Regions from separate parts of the Homo sapiens genome. Here region 2 is linked to region 1. The links are contacts of gene promoters, found by promoter capture Hi-C in human tissues and cell types (Jung and others, 2019). All regions are on one chromosome and are shown on one strand. Each heading gives the region's core, a stretch centred on a gene start or on the middle of the fragment in contact. The rest is flanking DNA. Distances are from core to core; before and after follow the strand shown.

Evidence for each region. Contacts are between HindIII fragments. The study calls those that stand out against the background at their distance.
Region 2: a fragment that was not itself captured here is called in contact with the fragment with the promoter of ZCRB1 in region 1 in 1 of the 25 tissues and cell types used here (dorsolateral prefrontal cortex).

The regions. Positions count from the first base shown.
Region 1 is chr12:42,324,036-42,329,585 of GRCh38, reverse strand. It overlaps ZCRB1 (zinc finger CCHC-type and RNA binding motif containing 1), which reads left to right and starts at 3,492. Exons shown (of 8, transcript NM_033114.4): 1 at 3,492-3,662; 2 at 5,482-5,550. The coding sequence starts at 5,484. PPHLN1 (periphilin 1) reads right to left here and starts at 3,419. Exons shown (of 10, transcript NM_201439.2): 1 at 3,357-3,419. RefSeq lists an enhancer at 3,747-3,796. The HindIII fragment of the contact is 5,260 bases long and covers 184-5,443 here.
Region 2 is chr12:41,233,651-41,239,200 of GRCh38, reverse strand. The region is part of intron 3 of PDZRN4 (PDZ domain containing ring finger 4); the gene reads right to left. Among named protein-coding and RNA genes, the nearest start is that of PDZRN4, 48 kb to the right of the region's middle. The HindIII fragment of the contact is 3,362 bases long and covers 632-3,993 here.

The DNA of each region.
Region 1 (5,550 bases), core at 2,243-4,742:
ATCTGTATTAAAAGTACACTATATAGTATCTTAGATTATTAATGCTAATAATAATAAAAAGCAGGAATGTCTATTTGTTCACTGATGAATATTAAGCTCCTAGAACAATTTGCACACTGTGCTCAGTATTCAGAGTGAATTAATATTCTAATGTTTCTATTAGAAAATATTTGAAATTCCAGGCCGGGCGCGGTGGCTCACGCTTGTAATCCCAGCACTTTGGGAGGCCGAGGGGGGCGGATCACGAAGTCAGGAGATCGAGACCATACTGGCTAACACGGTGAAACCCCATCTCTACTAAAAATACAAAAACAAAATTAGCCGGGGGCGGTGGTGGGCGCCTGTAGTCCCAGCTACTCGGAAGGCTGAGGCAGGAGAATGGCATGAACCCGGGAGGGGGAGCTTGCAGTGAGCCAAGATCGCGCCACTGCACTCCAGCCTGGGTGACAGAGTGAGACTCCGTCACACACACACACAAAAAAAAAAAAAAATTGAAATTCCAGACAACTAAACATAAATTTTAGAACATAATTAGTTAAGGTCATTGAAAAAAAAAAATTAACTGATGCTGGGGCTGGGTGCGGTGGCTCATGCCCGTAATCCCACCATTTTGGGAGGCTGAGCCTGGCGGATCATTTGAGGTTGAGAGTTCAAGATCAGTCTGGCCAACATAGTAATACCCCGTCTCCACTTAAAAAATATACAAAAATTAACCAGGCATGGTGGGACATGCCTGTAATTCCAGCTACTCAGGAAGTTGAGGCAGGAGAATCCCTTGAACCTGGGAGATGGAGGTTGCAGTGAGCCATGATCGTGCCACTGCACTCCAGCCTGGGCAACAGAGCAAGACACCGTCTCAAAAAATAAAAAAATAAAAAGTACTGCATTCTCTACTAGTTTCACAAGTCACTTGACTTTCCAACGCTTTAAGGATACTTCTTTTATAAGCCCGAATGTACTGCACTAAACTTAGTAGGAGATCCCTGATTGTCCATTATAATTGATCAATTAACTGAAATTACACAAGTAAACAAAAATGCCAGATGTCTGCCTACATATAATATTTATAAATCTGAATTTTATTTCATATATGGATGGAAGTTAAGGCCTTAACCGGTCAGCCTCCTTCCAGTGTTTTACCCTCCATTTTACCCTAAAAAAGGATAATCAACTGTTAACGCATATTCATAATGTGAAGTTTCCAGGATCAAGAATCCAAGAGGTTTTTTATTAACCATAATAAATCCAAACTTCTATCTTCCATATGCCTCCTTCTATTATATCTAACCTTCTATTCTCTCCAAAAGCATATAATTATGCCTGTTTCCTTACTGTGCCACAAACAGACTAACACATACTACCACGGAGCTGTTTATTTTCCAAACGGGATATCTTTTTCCATTCTCTCATTCAACATCCAACGGTCCATCAAGGCCCAACTCAAAACCTATTATTCTCCACAAAGCCCATTATATAAACCCTACAAGACTTAAAACAGATTCCAAACTAGTGACTGATAGGCCATATGAGACTTGTGTTTGACCCACTTTTTTTTTTTTAATAAAATTCTATTCCACTGACAACATTTAAAAACTGGGAGAGGATGCTTTTTAAAAAATGGTATTTCCAACTTTTTTTGAAAAAATTAGATGTTCTGGCAAAACTGGGATCATATTCTCACATAGCCACAATCAGCTGTAGCTGAGTGGCAGGTGACCCCTTCTAAGGGTGAAGTATTCATTAACGTTAACTGCCTGATCTCTGCAGCATACCTTCAGCACCTGCAATCATTCAAGAAATAACTGACTGTCTTATGTGCCAAGAACTGTATTAGCTACTGGAGTTACAAAGATAAACGAGACAAACACAGTCCCTCACCGACAGTCTCGCTTAGTAGGGATGGCAAAGAAGCAATTAAGATACATGTGATAAATGCCGTGAGGGAAGTGCAGGACAGCTAAGAGTACATAGCAAAAATACCTAACTCTATGGAAGTTAGGGTATACCCCTCAAGTAAAGTGACAGCTAAACTCAGATCTTTAATAGAAGTTATCCAGAAAAAGATAGGAGGAAACAGGGAGCTCAAATGTCCCAGAGAGAGAAAAGAGCCTTTGTGAAGATACTGAGGGAAGAAAGTATTCTGAGGAATTGAAATCCGTTCAACATGGCTACAGCCATGCCCAACCTTTAAATGCAGGGTCAGAGAAAGGGCTCAACTGAAATGGCTGGCAGGAAAATCTACGTGTTATCAATAGTTAAGGTTAGGAGATGAAGGAGAATTTCACTAAAGAAGTTGAATATGTAAAATAGTTTAAGCAGGAAATAGAGGTTTCAGAAAGCACAGATGGGGTGTTGAGGGGTTAAATGGGGAAGAAACGAAGAAGCAGTGATAGCCTAAGTCGAAAGAAAGCACAAAGCAGCATGGAAATGAGACTATAGCACAGAAGACCACAGAAGCTTACATCTTGGGCGGTAACCAAGGATAACAGAGATGTAAAGCATGGTAAGTTTGGCTGGCCACAAGTATGCCTAGAGAATTAGTGCCAGCGGTCTCCTGTCGGCCACGGAGGCATTCAGGCCTCTCAAAATTCAGCTGCGCCCTGGATGGATTGTACTTCCGTCTCTATAGAAGACATCGGCTTCACTCTGGATTGATTGTGCAGGCTCCAGGAGAGGCTGTGGGTTCCAGGCTGCTGGAACGCAGGCTCCCAGGGAGTGGTTAGAGGCCTGGTCTGTATGTGCTGGTAGGCAGAAGTATAAATTACCTTGCATTACGTTCTGATTTTTCTGTAGGAATGGTGGGCATGTTATGGCCTCTTAGAGAAAAAGCAGTGCGTAGCCATTATAGATTTACAGGAAGAGAAAAGGTGCCAAGAAGATCAACACTTGTCCATACCCATACTAAAGATGAGTCATTCTGTGAATCCAACTCTCCCCAAGTTGACCTCGTCTCCCCAACTAGACTGAGATCTTCACCAGAAAACAAAACAAAACAAAACATAAAAGGTCTGTTTATTTTGTAGTTCCCAAAGTGCCTAATAGCTGGGTACCGTGAACACCTTCAGTAAAATTACCGACTTCCTGACTCCTCTCGGGTCACTGAAGTTACCTAGCTCAGTCGTCTTCTTGCATATTAAGGCGCTACAGAGAGGCGAACCCCTATCTTAGACTCAATACTTCCCTTTATTCCAAACTCCACTGCGTCTCTCCACCCTCAACCGCATGGGCAGAATTGTCACACAATTCAAAGGCAGGAGAATCCAGGACCCGACACAGAAAACTCCCGCCCACTCCCCCCCGTTTAGCAGCCCGCACACGCTCTGCATCCATCTCTGGGAAAGGTAAAAAGCGCTCACCGACTCTGGCCCTCCGGGAGACCCCGTAAATGCAGCCGTCCGCTCGCCGCCGTTATCCCAGGTAGGTACTTCCGGCGCGCGCAATGACGTTAGCGAAGCGCTCGCCTCTGGGCCCGCCTTCGGGGCCCGGATCTCAAACAGTCGGGAAGAAGCACCGTGGCTGCTATTATCTGCTCTCCGCGCCTGACCCCTCCCAGGACTCGTGATGCCAAGGCCGCTGCGAGCGGCTACGAAGAGTCGGGGTTGAGCCCCAGCTGAGCCGAGGGCTCGCACTCTTCTGGTCTCCCAGGCCCAACCCACCTGAAGGTAAACGCCTCCTCAGCTGCGGCCTTCTCTCCTGCGGGGCCCCCTCCCCAGACTCGGCTGCCAAAACGCTCTGCCCCTCTCTCCCGCCACCCTTTTTATTCCAGGACCTTAACCTCTGCCTGCCTTCGCGGCTCTCAGCAGAACGTGTAACGCATAGTTTCAAATGAGAAACTTAAAAAGCGACGTATCTATGTTGAGTTCCTGAAGTTTTCTAAATAATTCCCCCATAACACCAAACATGAGGCAGTTTTCTCATTCCTTCACGAATTGGCATGCCATAGAGTCAGTATTTTTCCATTTGTGATGGTTGATCTTCCCATCTCAAATACACACCGCACGCTCTTTTTAAATCAGAAATTTGAATTTGGTTGAGCCTGATATTTTCACGGTAATTTGCTGACTTTGTAAGATAAGATGTGAAAATTACTGATTACATTTGTAAACTTTATATACATATACACACATACCTACAGGTCTGTCTCTTCGAGGCACCAAGCCTATTTATATAATGTATCATTTCATAATTTGGCAATAAGCAAAATTAGCGTTTCGAAAGAAGTTTATATTGTCGATACATAAAGCTTAAATTTACTCCTTAACATCATACTAAAAGGGGAAAAGAAAATTTTCCTCTTAACACACCACTCCAGAGAAAAAAAATATTAAGACAAGCAAAAAAGGTACCCAGCCATAGTACAGGCATGCACAGCATAACAACTTTTTGATTAACAACAAACCACATATACCACAGTGGTCTCCTAAGAGTGTAATACATTGTACCATATTTTTAGTGTACGTTTTCTGTGTTTAGCTATGTAAATATTTACCATTGTGTTTCAACTGTCTACATTATTCACTACATTAACATGCTGTACAGGTTGTAGCCTAGGAGCAATAGGCTAGACCATCTAGGTTTGTCTCAGTACACCCTGTGATGTCTGCACTGTGAAATCACGTAACACTCAGAACATACCTCCTTCATTAAGCATAGCATGACTGTGTATTAGCAAAAATCAGTGGCTAAGGTTCTGTCTGAGTCCCCATGCTCTTTCTGACCTGGGTGAGCAAGGTGCAGGTAATGTACATATACAGTACATATTCAATAGAGCATTTTTTTTGCTCATGGTCTGAGTGGAAGTTAGGAGTAGCCTCAGGGTTTTTCCTTCATCTGTTCAAAACCCGTCTCCCTACCCATACAATCTGGCACTGAAAGTGTTGGTATAAAGAATACTTGAAAGAAGAAGAACCAAAAAAGAATTTTTTTTAAGTGGTGACTGGGAAAAAGGAATTCCTTAATTCAGCCTGCTGGAGTCATTGTTCCTAACTTCCTAAAATGTAAGGAAGGTGTACACATCTGGCATAATTAAATCGGTGATTGTTAATACTTTATTGGTTTTTGTTTTTTGTTTTTTTCCAAATAATACCCAGACTGGTCTGATGTATTGGTTTTATTTGGAATTAATAATACTTGGTTTAGGCCAGGTGTGGTGATTCATGCCTGTAATCCCAGCACTTTGGGAGGCTGAGGCAGGTGGATCATTTGAGGTCAGGAGTTCAAGACCAGCCTGACCAACATGGTGAAACACTGTCTCTACTAAAAATACAAAATTAGCCAGGCATGGTAGTGGATGCCTATAATCCCAGCTACTCGGGAGGCTGAGGCAGGATAATTGCTTGAACCTGGGAAGCAGAGGTTGCAGTGAGCCGAGATCACGCCATTGCACCCCAGCCTGGGCAACAAGAGGGAAACTCCGTCTCAAACAACAAAAAAAGAATCCTGGTTTAGACTGATTGCTGATAAGTTTGTTTTCACTTTTAGAAATGAGTGGTGGATTGGCTCCAAGTAAGAGCACAGTGTATGTATCCAACTTGCCTTTTTCCCTGACAA
Region 2 (5,550 bases), core at 1,063-3,562, 1.1 Mb after region 1:
TTGCTGAGGATAATGACTTCCAACTCCATCCATGCCCCTGCAAAGGACATGATCTTGTTCCTTTTTATGGCTGCATACTATTCCATGGTGTATATTTACCACATTATCTTTATCCAGTCTATCATTGATGGGTATTCAGGTTGATTCTATGTCTTTGCTATTGTGAATAGTGCTGCAAAGAATATATGCATGTAGGTGTCTTTACAATAGAATGACCTCTAGTCCTTTGGGTATACTACTCAGTAATAGGATTGCTGGGTCAAATGGTATTTCTGCCTCTAGGTCTTTGAGGAATCACCACACTGTCTTTCACAGTGTTTGAACTAATTTGCATTCTCGCCAACAGTGTAAAAGCATTCCCTTTTCTATACAACCTCGCCAGCATCTGTTGTTTTTTTATTTTATTTTTTAATAATAGCACTTCGGAGTTTTTTATTTTTTATTTTTTAATAATAGCCATTCTGAGGTTTTTTATTTTATTTTTTATTTTTTAATAATAGCCATTCTGACTGGTATGAGATGGTATCTCATTGTGGTTTTGATTGGAATTTCTCTAATGATCAGTGATGTTGAGCTTTTTTTCTTGTGCTTTTTGGCTGCGTGTATGTCTTCTTTTGAGAGGTGTCTGTCCATGTTCTTTGCCCACTTTTTAATGGGGTTGTTTGTTTTCTTTCTTCTAAATTTGTTTAAGTTCCTTGTAGACTCTGGATATTAGACCTTTGTCAGATGGACAGGTTGCAAAAATTTTCTCCCATTCTGTAGGTTTTCTGTTCACTCTAATGATAGATTCTTTTGCTGTGCAGAAGCTCTGTAGTTTAATTAAATCCCATTTGTCAAATTTAACCTGATAAGCAACTTCTGCAAAGTCTCAGGATACAAAATCGATGTGCAAAACATTACTAGCATTCCTATACATCAACAGCAGGCAAGCAGAGAGAGCCAAATCATGAATGAACTATCATTTACAATTGCCACAAAGAGAGTAAAATACCTAGGAATACAGCTGACAAGGAAAGTGAAGGCCCTCTTCAAAGAGAACTACAAACCACTGCTCAAGGAAATCAAAGAAGACACAAGCAGATGCAAAAACATTCCATGCTCATGGTTAGAAAGAATCAATATCGTGAAAATGGCTGTACTGCTCAAAGTAATCTATAGAGTCAGTGTTATTCCCGTTAAACTACCATTGACATTCTTCACAGAATTAGAAAAAAAACTATTTTAAAATTCATATGGAAAGAAAAAAGAGCCTGAGTAGCCAAGACAATCCTAAGCAAAAAGAACAAAGCTGGAGGCATCACGCTACCCAACTTCAAACTGTACTACAAGGCTTTAGTAACCAAAATAGCACGGTACTGCTACAAAAACAGACACATAGACAAATGGAACAGAATAGAGATCTCAGAAATAAGACCACGCACCTACAACTATGTGAATTTTGACAAAGCTGACGAAAACAAGCAATGGAGAAAGGACTCCCCATTTAATTAATGGTGCTGGGAGAGCTGGCTAGCCATATGCAGAAAATTGAAACTGGACCCCTTCCTTACAACTTATACAAAAATTAACTCAAGATGGATTAACGACTGAACTGTAAAACCCAAAATTATAAAAATCCTAGAAGAAAATCTAGGCAATACCATTCAGGACATAGGTATGGGCAAATATTTCATGACAAAAATGTTAAAGTATTAAATTAGATTATTTTACCATACATTACAAAGCAACACATACTGGGAATACAGTAGCAATAAAATCAGGAAAGCTTGTAATTGAGACATTTATTTAAACATCTATAGCAATAACATGGCCAATATGATCCATAAAGGTGTTTGCTACAAACGTGCCCATATTTAGTGACCTTAATTTTGTCAGATGTTTTATACTTCCATTTTATGAGAAAAAACTAGGAAATACATTTCTTTTTAAAATATTATGAAATAATTACTTTATTTCATCAAGTATTTCTGGACTGTATGCTCTGTCCATTTGAAAACTCTAGATTCCCATTTTTCCCAAGAAGTGCCTATGAGGGGGCACCAGTATCAAGAAGGTATAATGATTACAAGTTAATATCACCTAATTATGTTTTTTATTTTCATGTTTTATTTTTCCAGTGATGCAAGTTAGTTTTGTGAATTCTAATCCTTCTTGCCTTTTTGCAATCTGTTACTTATGTTAAATGTTTCCTGTGTAAACATTTGAAATGTTATCAGTCTTCCATTTTTAGAGTATAATATTATGAAAAAGACATTTTCTATCTTCTCTGGAGCCCCCTCTTCAATAAACCCCACACATAAAATAAAATAGATGCAGAAGCTTAAAATATAAATTGTTATGGGGCTATGAAAGAAAATCCAAGTATCTATGGTCTTATCACACCTTCCTTATTCTATTGATTGTGCTGAAATTCAGAAAGAATGGTGAGCTAATAAAGTGGGAAGAAAAAATTAAGATCTAGGTCTAATTGTTTCACTTGCCATATTGGCAAAAAGAAACAAAAAAACAATCCCCAGACTGTCATATGCTATGACATCCAAATCTATCACCTCTTCAGAGTCCCACTCCCCCACACCCATTCAAGTCCTCATTATCTATTGCCCATACTATTGAAAAGGCCTCCTAACTGACCTTTCTTCTCTCTTAGTCTCTTTTCCTTCATCTCTAATTTGTTTTGCAATGCACCAGCCTTATCTTCTTCTCCTTCTATAAAATCCTAAAACAGGCACCAACATGACACCCAAGGCTCTCTGTAATCTTGCCCTAAATGAGCCTCCCGCCTCACCTTCGTTTCCTCTGTGCTCCAGCCATGCCAGATTTCCCAATGCTCAGTCCAAGTACTGTGAAGCACCCTGCCCCCAATTCTGCTATGTCTCACTCTGTCATACACATCTGAAATGCCACTTCCTTCAAGGTGATTTCTTTGATCTTTGATCCCTGCAAAGAATCAATCTTTCCTGCCTTTGTGCTACAAAGGCACAAATAAGATAATTTTCTTCTGTCCCTCATGACATTTGTACATTTACTTTTATCTGTGTTATATTAAAGGTAGTCTTTCTTATTCACTAGATTGCAAACTTCTTTGGTTAGAAACTATTCAATCACTCTTCAATGTCTTTTAATCTAGGTGCTCAGTAAACATGGGTTATCAGACTGTAAAAAATATTTCAAATAAATGTAGAGTTTATTTTCTCTGGGATTAATTTGATTCCTGAAATGGCTAAGTTACTAACTTACACAGTTAAATATAACTCTTTAGCTTTAATTTAACTTTGAAAGTTCAACAATGAAAAAAAATGAGTGTTATACATTTGGAAATGAAATTACGTAATGCTGATGCCTGGTAATGTTCAAGCTGGTTAAACAAATATTTTTGGTGTGCCTGTGATACACAAAGCTTTAAGTTTGTGCATATCTATGCATTTCATCAAAGGTTGTAAACTGATTGCCTGTATGCCAAATGGCCCCTGAGGCCCGCGTGTATGTGGTTTGGTTCTTCATAGAGGGTTTTTAAAATTTTCAAACCAGCATTTAAAAATTGAGATGTTTTACATCTAAATTTAGGTTTCTATTTTTTTCTAAAAAACATAAGGTCTAGCATTTCTGGGCCCACATGCTTTTAAATTAACTTATGTGTCTAGTTCCCCAAAATCCTCACCATTCAAAAGCACACTGTGTGCATAGGAACTCACTCCCTGATCCTTCATGGGTGAAGTCTGCCTAGCCCTTCTAAGTTTTTCGAATGTGTGGCCCTGGTTAATATAATTGCTTATCTTCTTTGTTAGTTTAATATTTTCTAAGAAAAACTATAATATTGAAAAGCTAAACTTTAAACCCATATTGTTTTTAGTTTTGTTTCATTTTTTGGCCTTTTTCTTATTTTCCTAGGAGGTATATATTGTTGCAAAAGAAACACAATGGCACAATAATACATCAGGTGAGAAGGTCCTAGGGCTTGAGACATACCTATTGCTATCAAGATGAAGAGTTCATATTTGATTGTACTACTTTAAAAGTTTATATCTGAACAACATAAAATTACAGTGCTCATCTCCAAACCAGTATTCTTTAATTCTTACTTTATAATTGATAAGACAGACGAGGCATATTTAGGAATTCAGCATATTTCAATGCTCTGAAAGGTGTTTCTAATAGGTTTCTAAAGGACTGTGTGTTTAGGTAACCTTCTAACCCCTTCCGGTGTAGGTTAGTGGGGTCATTTACACAGACTGTTGGCTGGCTTCAAAAGCTGGGGTCTGAGGAGTGCCAGGAATGCATCCTTCCTCAGTCTCTCAGCCGGTCCACTTCAATTAGTCCCATATTTATTCACTCGTGCTCATTGACATTTCATCTTTGAAGGCTGAGACAGGCTGTCTCCATCTGTCGTAGGGTTAAGTAACCATCTCCAATTTCAGGAGATTCAATGAGCTAGAAAATACAGCTCTCATCCAACCAACTTTTAAAGGACACATTTATATAACTACTGAAGAGCAACTGAGAAAAGAAAACGTTGTCCTTTAGGGTTTTTATGCATGTGATTATTCCATCCCATACATGACTAATATGTACATTTAGATGAACCGCAAAAGCTTCCTATGTGCTCAAATGTGACTAAAAACTCTTATCCCAGGAATCCAGAAACCATCATTAAACAGTCTGTCTTTCTAGTTAGATATCTCTATCAGTGATAACATGAAAATCTTATATTTTCCACAAAAATTGTTTCACATTGTGATTATGGAAGTCCCTTTTTATAAATGGAATACACCCATACCCTCAGCCTAGGTTCTAGATTTCTCTGTTTTGAAGCTCTGAAAAATACATTTGAACTTTTCTAAGATAACTTTTCTGACCAATGGTCTTGAGTTTCTATTTTAATCCTGGCTGCTCATATTCCTAATTTACATGAGAATTCCAAATGTATGATTTCAGAGAAGGTATTCTTTATGTACATGTTTTGAAGGTAAAGAAAATTACAGGTTTCAATACTTGCCAAGATAATTTTGAAAAATACAGTGACAGTCTTAGTAGTAGCTCTATAAATTGGGGGGTTTAAAGGAAAACTATCAATATATATTATCAAGCAGATGCTTTCCAAAGGTTGGCTTTTTTGAGGTTTCTATTAATCAAGGAGCAATAAATTCACTAAAATGAATATTCCTCAAAGGGCCAATATTGCTTTCTGACGGGGGCCAATCAGAGAGTGATTCTCTGCTACATCTGGAAACAGATTTCTTTGTTTTTTTTTTAACTTTATTATTATTATACTTTAAGTTTTAGGGTACATGTGCACAACATGCAGGCTTGTTACATATGTATACATGTGCCATGTTGGTGTGCTGCACCCATTAATTCATCATTTAGTATTAGGTATGTCTCCTAATGCTATCTCCCCCCCGCTCCCCCCACCACACAACAGTCCTGGGTGTGTGATGTTCCCCTTCCTGTGTCCATGTGTTCTCATTGTTCAATTCCCACCTATGAGTGAGAACATGCGGTGTTTGGTTTTTTGTCCTTGCAATAGTTTGCTGAGAATGATGGTTTCCAGTT